Linked DNA regions of Homo sapiens: region 2 is linked to region 1. The links are contacts of gene promoters, found by promoter capture Hi-C in human tissues and cell types (Jung and others, 2019). All regions are on one chromosome and are shown on one strand. The core of a region is centred on a gene start or on the middle of the fragment in contact, and the rest is flanking DNA. Distances in the headings are between cores, read along the strand shown.

Region 1 (5,888 bases), core at 1,184-3,683:
GTGCCTGGAACTTCTGCCCATGTTAAGATTTCCAGTTCAACAGGAAGGTGGTCCAAAATCAGTAGCATGCCCAGGCTCCTTGGCAGACAAACTCAAACTATCTCCAAAGAAAAGCATCTCTGGAATCCTACAGGTGAAGATAAAGCAATGAGCTTACAAAGATAAATACACACAAGAAAGAGAGCAAGCCATCATGAATCTGAGTCAATGTAGACAGCCCAGGTTGCAAACAGCAGAACTGTCAAATAAAGAATAAGAACAATCAAGTAGGAAATGTCTAAAGAAATAAATGAATAAGAAACAAAGGACTATCAAGAATGCCCAGACAGATTTGAAAAATAAGCAAATGGAACTTATTAAAATAAAAAATAATTGCTAAAATCAAATATTCAGAAAAGTAGCAGATTAGACATAGCTGATAACAAAATTAATGAACTGGAAGATATAACTAAAGAAATTACCATATAAGCAAGAACCTAAATTAGTTTCAAAGTACCAAGAGTCCAAATTACTTCTAAATTAACTGGAAGTCATGATTCATACCAGACTCCCACCCAAAAACACAGTGTTTTAGATGTGTTTTTTACCTTTACAGCTTAAGAGTGTTATCTTTTAGATGTCATTTCATCTTTATGAGAATCCATTTAACAAATGGCATGCTGAGATGGTCAATGTGACATACATAAGAATGAAAAACAGCACAGAGACTGGAAACCAAATGATGAAATCCTTCAATGAAACTTAACATAAATACTAATTTAGATCCTGTTTTCATGACCTCCTTGCTGGGAATGAGTCACAGAAAATAACACCTCCTGTATTCTGGACCACAGAAGTTAAAACAAAATAAAATAAGATTATTAACCCAGAGAGTAGACTATAAAAGGAAGAAAAGTCATTGCCTTAGTGGATTCTTCTCACATTAGGCAAAAATCTTTCATTGGGAAGTTAACTCTGTCCTATTCATTCTTCAGATTTGTCAAGATAATGATCAAGTCCATACTTGATCCTTCTGCAAAATGTCACTATTCCTATGACCATTTTGATACTTAATTTGGCATAATTAATCTATGCTGTTCCTCATTTTCAATTAATCTATGCTGTTTCTCATTTTCAGTATTCTGATATATCTCATGTATCAGAATATGGGCTCTCAGTCTTATTCAACTATTATTTTTAACTAAATGTTATAGTTAGCAACTGGTTCACAAACCATTATTCCCTTAATTTGTGAATCATGACTTAAATTTCTCACAATTTTTACTTGCCCACATAAGGCAAATGCTGTACTCTCTCTCTCTCTCTCTCTCTCTCTCACACACACACACACACACACACACACACACACACAGTTTTTCCATATTCCTAAGGAAAATGGTGGAGTGGTCAATGTGAAATTTCAATTCTGTTGGACTCATCCCAAATCTATCAACCCTCTATGTGATTTATTTACACACACAAACCCCAAAATAATCATCACTGCCTATACTTTCACTAGTTGACACCAACGAAAAGACAAGGTGTTAATCATGACACTTTCCTTAAGTGTTAAACACAAGCAAACCAGAATAGCAAGTTTCAAATATTTAGAATTCTTTCCAAGCTAAGCAAAACATTCTTTAGCAGTGACCACACCACCCGCCAAGTTCTAAAACTAGCTGTTTCAACTTGGAAAATTATATCTACCTTAAAAGTTCTTATATGTAATTAAAAGTTCTTATTAAAATAATAAGCAGAAAAAAAACCTGTCACCTAAAAGTTCATTTTGATATATCTTATACCCTCTTACACTAGGGAGGAAGGGAGAACTTCGACTTAAAAAATGCAATGTCCACCTAGATGACGTCAATACATATACACGTTTGAACTGCTTTTCACATCAGCGTTAAGAAATTTGGGGGCAACACAAAGATCTGGGCATTTGTCACAGGATCCAACTACAACTAGACCCGGTCGTTGTCAATCTATGATCTTTGGCACCTCTGGATCTCTAGAATAAAACTTGGTCCCCAAGTTCTTGTGGGCCCACCCTCGGCAGTCAGCCCTACGGCGGGGCGGGAGCGGCCCCACCCTAGCTCCAGGCGATACTCACAAACTTGGGGCGCTTCTCCCCAGGCTCCTCGGGGCCACTGGGCGGCGGAGGGTGTTGGGGGCCCTTCCTGCGCGGCATCTTGCTTTCCCGGCAGCCGCGGAGAGAGGCTGAGGAAGGGTAGGGAGTCCCAGCGGCTGAGCCTTGGGCCGGGTGGTGCAGCCGCGGCTGGTGCCGTTCCATCTTTCCCCGCAGCTCCGGGGACCGGAAAGAAGGTGGCCACTCAGCAAGCCGCAAGCTGGAAGCTGAGGGATCGACAACAGGTTTTACTCCCGGGGTCCGCCACCCAAACAGTCAGCACAGCCTAGCCCAACCGCTGAAGTCGGGGCCGCAGCCAACACATCTGAAAACTCCCGCCACCCGTGTTGGCCCGGGACTGGCCAATCCCGCGCCGCCGGATCAATGACACGCTGAGGCACCGCCCCTTCCGGGCACTGCGAAACATGATTGGCCTTGCGGCCTGTCTATGCAGCCGCTCAACCCTTCCGGCGGTCCAGGCCGCTCACCTTAAGGACGCAGAGTGGCGTCAGATTTGGAGAAGCGCCGGGGACCGTGGAGGAAGTCATCGGCCTGGATTTCTTTGGATTTGCAGATAGGGTTCCAGCAGAACTGGAAGGTGGGCGAGACAGGCCCTGCGCCACCATTTGAGCAGCGCTGGGATATAAAACCATCTGCTAGCCCTCTCCTTGCACGTCTGGGGCTGGAAAAAGTAGTTCTGGGACTGGGTACGGTGCTGGAAGGGGTACTAGGCAGGATGAAACGACGGGGCCCACGACGCTCCAAAAGGAAGCCTTCTGGACATATTTCCTGCCTAAGTGCTCGCTCTGGGGTGGCAGAGGGGTCCACCCAAAATCAGACAGAGCTAGGCTAGGCTGAGCCCTTCAGGAGCTCACAGTCTCCTGTAGTTTCCAAACCCTAACACAATTAACCAAGGAATGTAAATGTCTATAGCAGTTGTTTTAGAAGTTCCTTGAGAACAAAAAGGGAAGTTATTAAATCTGAAGGAGTGGATCTGGAAAGGTAAAAGGAAAGCTGCATAGGTTTTCACTAGGCAGGAAACAGTGGCAGGGCATTCATTTAAAAGGCATTCCATTCCAGGCAGGAGCAAGGCCAAGAAAGCATAGAGGTGAAGAAACTTTAAGGTCACATAACAAAGGGCCTTGAACTGAAACCATGCAAAAGAGTTTGTTGTGTAAACCCAAGGTCAAGCTACAAGGCAAACACCGTTTTCTCAACACATCAATATACCCTCTTTAAAAATGAGCTTTTCCTTGGAACTATTCCTTTAAGATATCTGTCTTCTGATTATATGGAGGTGGTGTAGGCCAAGACTCGGAAACATGCAGTATTGATTTTGGTACAAGAAACAACTCTAGGTACTCTGAGGAGTTTGGCACAGAGGTTCAAAAAATGAGCCTTAGTTCTCAGTAAGTCTTCACACTACAGCTTTTCTTTTTTAATATTTGTTTTACTGTGCCAGACTCTACAGCTCTGTCCTCAAAGAGCACATAATCTTTAGGGAAACTTACAGGAGAACAGCAAGGTCAGGAGAACTACAAGTAGTTCCTTATATCTTGATGACAGACCCAGATACAGATTTTATTCCTGCCATTTACTAGCTATTTGATACCGGAGATGACGTTTAACTTTCTTTGCTGCTTCATCTACAAAAGGGGGGTAATTATACTAATACCTATGAAAGAGGGGCATTTTCAGGCCTAAATAACATAGCATATGTAAAGCCCTTAGAGTTTTGTCAATGCTCCTACAGGAATACTGTAGTTGAAGAAGTTGGGATTATTACTCAGGGAGGGAGAACATGCACTATGGGGAGCCATGAAGTGTCTTAGGTAAATGGTATTAGAAAGCACTTAAAGGATTTGGGCTTTGATTAGGTGATTTGGGAAAGACTCCGTGGAAAGAGGTGGGAAGGGTTGCTCAAGATTAAGTGCCTTCAGGAAGTGGAGACAGTTCAGTGATTATCTTATCTAGGAGGATGGCAGGCTAAAAGACAAGCCTAAAGCTGTAACTGACAAGCATTAGTCATCCATATCATGGAGAGAGGGGAATGTTTGATTTTGAAAGACAAAACAAATTAAAGATCTAATTGGCTTTTATTTGCAATTCCAGAATAGGCAAAACTTCATTCTCTAAAATAGAATCTGTTCCAATGAGCTAAGCAGAGGAGGTTGGCTTTATAGGCAGAAAAAAGCTAGAGAACAGAAATAAGGAATGAGAAGCAGATGAGTTGTTTCAAAGTTACTTTCCTTATAGGGTTAAAACAGGGGAACTTTCTTAGCATACCAGCTCAGATAAACTTGGCCCCTTCTGATTGGGTGCTATGAATTTCCTGCTTTTTGGAAAACTGGCTGGTTTCAGAGTTGCTTTTGATTATGTGGCAATACGCATGAGGGACCATTCTGCTTTGGTCTGGTCTGCCGGAGCCTAGTGCAGCAGATTAGTCCAAAACTAAGGTTAGTCTATAATCATTTCCCATGAATTTATTTAACATTGATATTTTCTGATTTGCATACTGACCTTGTTATTGTCTGTGCTTAGACAAAACATGGAAGTGATCTTGTTTTGTCTCACTTCATCATGGTCACAGAGTGACCCTGTCTGATATTGCTGTTCTGTGAGATGCTGTTCATCAGGAGAACAACATGGCCTAGCTATGAGTGTCAGGCCAGTTTCTAAAAACACTGAGGCTTAGCTATAAGTGTCAAACTAGTTCCCTGATGTCAGGGACTGCTCCTTTCTTTCTCATGTCTTTGCCACATAGAAGGTACTAAATATAAGTAAACAGGAGCCATGATAATTAATTTTCAAGTTTACGTACAGCACTCTGAATTTTTTCTCATAGAAATGCACTGGAACTTCAGTGTACTAGTGAAAATATCTTTGTATAAGTTTTATGTTTTTTAAAGTACATTTTATATGTGTGCCCCAACATACTTAAACCTCATAACAGCATGCACTGACCCTCATTTTGATCACCCAGCGAGATGATACACCCCAGTGAGTCAATAGTCATGGAAATAGAAAGTTGAAGGTGAAAAAAAAGGCCTGGAAAAGCTTGGAATCTAGGAATATATTTCTTCCCTTTATCATTTCTGTTCAGTGTCAACATCCAGAAAATTATTAATGCCTTTCTTTTGATGGCTCACTCTTATGGACCATATGAGAAAGTTGTTGAAAGCTGAGGGAAGGAAGTGATTATCCTTAATCAATTTTTTTAAATGAGATGTCATTTACCCTCATTAAATTGGCAAATACTACAAAGTTCCATGTTTCCAAGTTTGGGCCAAGTTGGGAATTCCTAGATAGATAGTGGAAGTGCAAAACAGGTATAGGCACTTTGGACAAAAACTTGGTAATACCTAGTAAAGGTGAAGGTATGTGTACCTATGACCCTGCAATTCCATGTCTAGATGTCTCCCTGGAAAAGCCCAAACATACACCTACAAAGATATTTCTTGAACACTTCTGCCATATTATGATTATCTATATATGTATATATATATAGATACAGATTTTCACCCATGGTTCCTAGTTCATAAGTTTCATAACTCTTGTTACAGCCTTTTGTTATAATGTGAGAGTGCTTTAGGCCTCAGAAGTAGGCCTCAGGGAACAGAATCTCTCTCTGGGAACTTCTGCTCTCCTTTCACCTGCCCAAGACAGGAATCTAATCTGATGGTGGGTCATAAGACCCTCAGGCCAGAGAGAGTCCTGCCCCACGCTCTAGAGAAAGGAATGCTGCACAGAGAGACCAGGAAAATCTGAACAGAACAGACAG
Region 2 (5,709 bases), core at 2,892-5,391, 64 kb before region 1:
TGAATTTTCCAAGAATCAAACTATTCTGTAAATTATAGTTACACTCTGCTTTTTTTAAGCTTTACCAACAGTTGTGCTTCATTTCTGAAATGTAGGTATCCCAGGGAAATACTGTCTGTGGTATCTGAATCCCCAAAATAGCACAACTATATCAATCTACCAATCTACAATGCCACTGCTGTACTCACAGAGGTATGAAGCAGAGATTCAAGAGTATGAATTTACTATACCTTCTTGAGTAGTCATGGCCAATTGTTTAAATTGAAATACATATTTTATTATATAGTAGAGTAAGACATATTGATTTTCTTAATTTATGAACATAGGTAACATTATCCACAAAGAATTTCACTGGAAGAAAGTAATGAGATAGTTAGGGGATAATTGTTATAAAACGTGGGGCAATCTGAGAGCACTGGAAAATTCTGTTTTAAATTATTCACTTTATTTTTATTTTCAGGCTAATGGCCAAACATTACCCAGTCTCTTTAGTAAATTAAAATACTTAATATACACAGAATACCAAAAAACAGAAAGCCCTTTAGTTGTGGCTGAAATTGAAATAAAATTTCAAGGTGAGTAGTAGAAAGAATTTTTTAAAAAGGCCTCTGCTTTCTTTTTGGAAAGACATCTTCATGATAACACCAGTTCATACAAAAAAGTGGTTGTGATTGTTATTTTTGGGGGTTGGTTAATTTTAGGTGTGATGGTTAATTTTAGGTTAGACTTCTGGCTTAAAGTATACCCACATAGCTGGTAAAGCATTATCTCTAGGTACGTCTTTCAGAAGAGATTGGCACTTGAATCATTGGACTGTAAGTCAGTAAGGACGATCCGCCCTCAGTATGGGCAGGCACCATCTAATCAGCTGAAAGCCTGGATAGAACAAAAAGGCAGAAGAAAGGCTAAGTCTCCCTCTCTCTTCTGGAGCTGAGACAAACTTCTTCTGCCCTTGGACATCAGAACTCCAGGTTCTTCAAGCTTTGGGCCCTGGGACTTCCCCCAGTGACACTCTCCCTGGAGTTCTCAGGCCTTAAAGCCACCTCAGCCTCCAACTGAGTTTCACCAACAACTTCCCTGGTTTTGAAAACTTGGGGCCTTAACTGAGCCACGCTGCTGACTTCCCTGGTTCTCCAGCTTGCAGATAGCATACTGTAGGACTTCTTGCCCTTTATAATCATGTGAGCCAGTTCTCCTAATAAATCCCCTCTCATATAGACAGGCAGGCATCCTATTGGTTCTGTTTCTCTGGAGAACTCTGACTAGTAGTGATACATCTGGAATTAAGGGAGAAACCCAAAATTCTCCCAGCTGCTTCCTCTGGTTTATCCCACCTCTTTTGCCTAAATATGGCACTCGCCTTCCTGACAAAAGTATGATGACAGTCCTAGTATAAAAAACCAAAAGGAAACAAATAATACTTGCTCTAATTTGGATGTTATCCCATGCAAATCTCATATTTAAATTTGATCCCCAATGTTGGAAGTAGGGCCTAGTGGGACGTGTCTGGGTCATGGGTGCAGCTCCCTCATGAATAGATTAATGACCTTCCTGGGGTGGGGGCGATTGAGTTCTTGCCCTATTAATTCCCATGAGAGCAGGCTGTTTATAAGAGTTTGGAACCTCCCCACCACCTTCTCCCTTGCCTCCTCTCTCACCATGTGATCTCTGCACACACCAGCTTTTTCTTGTCTTTCATCATGAGTGGAAGCTCCCTGAGGCCCTCACCAAAAGCAGATGCTGGTCCCATGCTTCTTGTACAGCTTGCAGAACTGACAGCCAAATAAACCTCTTTTTTAAATTATTCAGCCTCAGGTATTCCTTTATGGCAACATAAAAATGGACTAAGACAACAATACAAAAGTTTGGAATCAACTACATAACACCCTAAACTTTTGTGGGATACCCACTAGGCATGTAACTTCATCTAACAGGTCATCCTCCATATTTCCAGGAGGAAATGGCATTTGAAAGCGTAAGAAAAGCTCTGCCCTTTAAAAAAGAAAAAAAAAAAGAGAGAGAGAGAGAGAAATAAGGGGGCAGTAGAGAGAAAATATGCATGAAAGCATGAGGGGTATGGTATTATTAGAATATATTTTGAATTTCTATTTATGGAAAACAAGGCTGAAAGAAGAAAACTCCATGAGGCAGTGGCACTTAACTTCTGGGGGTCACGAAGTCCTTAGAAAATTTATTGGGAGCTTTTTTTCCTAAAAAATGCATATCCATATTTTATGTTGCAATTCCAGAAGGGTGAAGCATCTCCCAAGGCTATCTAAGAAACTGGACTTGGTGAAGGTCAGTGGGGGAGAAGTGAGCAAGTTATCATTTTTTATGTTTCTTAGTTTATATTTCCTCAAAATTATCATGTTGTATCTCCATTATCTAAGGTCAGTTTCCCTTAAAAGCAGAGCCTGAAACAGGGATTCAGGTGCAGGTGGGGCTGCTCTCAGGATAAGAAAGTAAAGGAGGTAAGACAAAAGAGGAAAAAAGACATACTAAAGGTGGCCTCTGGTGGATTCTCACTTCACCCTGAGATGCACCACAGTCAGGATAGCCTGGTAGCAGAAACCAGCCTCAACAACCTCAAGTTAGTCATCAGCTGCAGAATCCTAGTTCTGATGAGGGCAAATCTCTGGAGAAAGGGGCATCTATAAGCTATTAGAAGCCAACACTCATCACCTGGGGCATGGGTGCACCAGCCTGGTAAAAAGGAGCTGGGAGGGGGTACTAAAAGTACCTACTATACCATCTGAAAATAATTTACTTGATATTAAAATAAGACTTCTTTCAAATTGAAAGAATAAATATAGAAACAAATTGAACAGAATAAATTGAACAGAATAAATATAGAAACACATATAGCTGACCTTAAAAAAAAAGGCAATATAAACTATTGTGTATTAACTCCTCCTTCCATTCAAACACAGGTCAGTAAAACATGCTGCTTTACTGTGCTACCACACTACATAGGTACAAAATGACACTGCAGACACAGATTGTAAAACGGCTCTAAAATGGCTGTTTACCTCAATATATCAGTATGCTGATATATGTACGTATCTCATTAAATATCTATTATAGGTAAAATACTGAACAGGAAATACAAAGTAAACATAAATACATAAGGCTCAGTGAGTAATCTGAATGAGGTTAAAATTTCCATGGATATATGAAATAAATCTCTACCCTTTAAATGGAAAAATCTTATCAACTGGCTATTGGGCTGAATATATCACACTCAAAAACATCATTTGCCAAGTCACCTATTCAAAATTTTAATCTCTCTGAAGAGCATATTATTGTTTTTGATGTTAAAGTTCTATTAAAAAGTTCTATTAATATGTTAGTAATATACATTATGAATTATCTCATTCATAGTACTCCTTAATATACAGATGCTCAACTTACAATGGGGTTATGTCCCAAAAAAGCCATTAAAAATTGAAATGCAGAAATGCATTTAATACACCTAACCTACTGCATGTCACAGCTCAGCCTAGCCTCCCTTAAACATCCTCAGAACACTTACATTGGCCTACAGTTGGACAAAATAATCTAACACAAATGCTATTTTATAATAACATTTTGAATACACAGATGCACATTTTGTAGACATGGTGGGATGCGAAAACACAAAGCACAATATCCAAAAAATGCTGGGGACACAGTACAGTCAGTTGTTCAGCCTAATGATTGCATGGCTGACAGGGGAGCTGCAGCTCTCAGTTGCTGCCCCACGTCACAAGAGAGTGTCAAACTGCATATAGCTAGCCCAGGAAAAAGATCAAAATTCAAAGTACAGTCTCTACCGAATGCATGTTGCTTTCACCACTGTAAAGTCGAAAAATCGTTAAATCGAACCACTATATGTTGGGGACCACTCTCGGCTTGCCAGGGGAAACCGAGTTGCAACAGCAAAAAAAATAGTTTCCCTTTGGCCAATTACTTTCTAATTAAAATCTATATCTAAACAGAATCACTGTGCTGATCTGACTAGCACTAGGAACAGATTTCAGAAGTACAATACTTGGAAAGCTTTTTTTTTCATTCAATACGTGGGAACACAGCTATGTCATCCAAAAAGACTAGAATTAAAAAGACCAAATTAATGTGGTACCAGAAAGTAAGAGAAGGAAGGAAGGAAGGAAGGAAGGAAGGAAGGAAGGAAGGAAGGAAGGAAGGAAGGAAGGAAGGAAAGTCAAAAGGACATGAGCCAAACTGAAAGAGCTGTTAAGTGGCCAAAACTAGAACAATTTGAAAAATAAAATGATAGTATTAGATTATAACCTAAAAAGCAAAATAAATTGAGGAGATACTTTAAGACTGTGCAGATATCCTTTTTCTCCTTAATTATAGAGGGGAAATACTAACTTTACAAGGGAAGAAGCTGGCAGATGCCACCTTAACAAAGTTGTCCAGGCTAACACCACAAATAATAGGACATATTGATATTTCAAACCTCCAGCTATGATATAATGAGAAGGCTGATCACCTCTGTGGTATTTATCCCAAAATAGATCTCAATCTAATCACAAGGAAAAAAAAAGTCAGGCAAACCCAAATTGAGAGCACCCTACAAAATAACTAACCATAACTTTTCAAAAGTATCAAGCTCATAAAAGATAAGGAACTGTCATTGACTGGAAGAGACATGACAAATAAATGCAAGATGTGATCCTGGATTAGATCCTGGAAGAAAAAAAAGACATGGGTGGGAAAGCTGGCAAAATCTGAAGCAAGTCTGTAGTTTAGTTAGCAATATCGTCTCAGTATTCAATTCTTAGTTTTAATAATTGTACTAATGTTATATAAGATGTAAACATTAGAGGTAGTTTGGTGAAAGGTATACAAGAATTCTCTATACTATTTTTGCAATTCTTCTATAAGTCTAAAATTATTTCAAAATAAAGAGTTATTTTAAAAGACTAAATTGAAATATTTTAATAGAACTTTTTATAAATAACTTGGGGTAAAAAAAGAAAAACAGAACATCATTATTAAAAAAAAAAAGAAGTTTTTTTATATCCCCTAAATAAAAAGAAGAGGTTTGTAGAATATTCGGCTATAGTAAATACACACTGAATTGAGGGAGGAAAGGAGACTAAGGAAACCACAATCAAGACAAATCCAAGGGTCCTGAGAGGAAGGGTTAAGTAGGTCAGACACAGGTAACAGAATTCCATTCAAAACACAAACTTCTCCAACTGTTTACATTTCCTCCTATTTTCATTCCAAACCTGCTCTATGCACTGACCTTCTCACCCATTCTCCCAGAACCATTTTACAAAGACCTCTAGTACTCCTGTAATCTTAAACTATGGTCAAATTCTTGAGCCAGGCACTGTGCTAAACATTCATAAGCATTACTTAATTAATCCTCAGTAACTTGAGGTATGTCCTCTTTATTGAGGAGAGAGCTGAGGTTTAGGAAAATTCTGTAAGTTGACCATGGTTCTTTAACTTAGATTTAAACTCTGTTCTATCTCATCTCCCTCATTCTTATTTCCATATTATTTATCTATGTTATCATCTAAAGTCCGATTTCCTTGGGGCTAGTAACATCTGACTGAACACTTCCACTGCCATCAACTTGGGTTGATTCCTCTGACACTCCACACCTTGCTATCACCCACAATGGCCCTAAAGCAAGCTTGTCCAGATTGCACCCAGGACGGTTCTGAATGTGGCCCAACATAAATTCAAACC

What was found. Contacts are between HindIII fragments. The study calls those that stand out against the background at their distance.
Region 2: a fragment that was not itself captured here is called in contact with the fragment with the promoter of DIAPH3 in region 1 in 2 of the 25 tissues and cell types used here (IMR-90 fibroblasts and adrenal gland).

The regions. Positions count from the first base shown.
Region 1 is chr13:60,161,495-60,167,382 of GRCh38, forward strand. DIAPH3 (diaphanous related formin 3) reads right to left here and starts at 2,434. Exons shown (of 28, transcript NM_001042517.2): 1 at 2,093-2,434. The coding sequence starts at 2,272. LOC105370227 (a long non-coding RNA gene) reads left to right here and starts at 2,563. Exons shown (of 2, transcript XR_942001.2): 1 at 2,563-2,705. RefSeq lists enhancers at 2,823-2,872, 3,961-4,255. The HindIII fragment of the contact is 10,910 bases long and covers 1-5,888 here.
Region 2 is chr13:60,095,776-60,101,484 of GRCh38, forward strand. The region is part of intron 3 of DIAPH3 (diaphanous related formin 3); the gene reads right to left. Among named protein-coding and RNA genes, the nearest start is that of DIAPH3-AS2, 46 kb to the right of the region's middle. The HindIII fragment of the contact is 3,265 bases long and covers 2,510-5,709 here.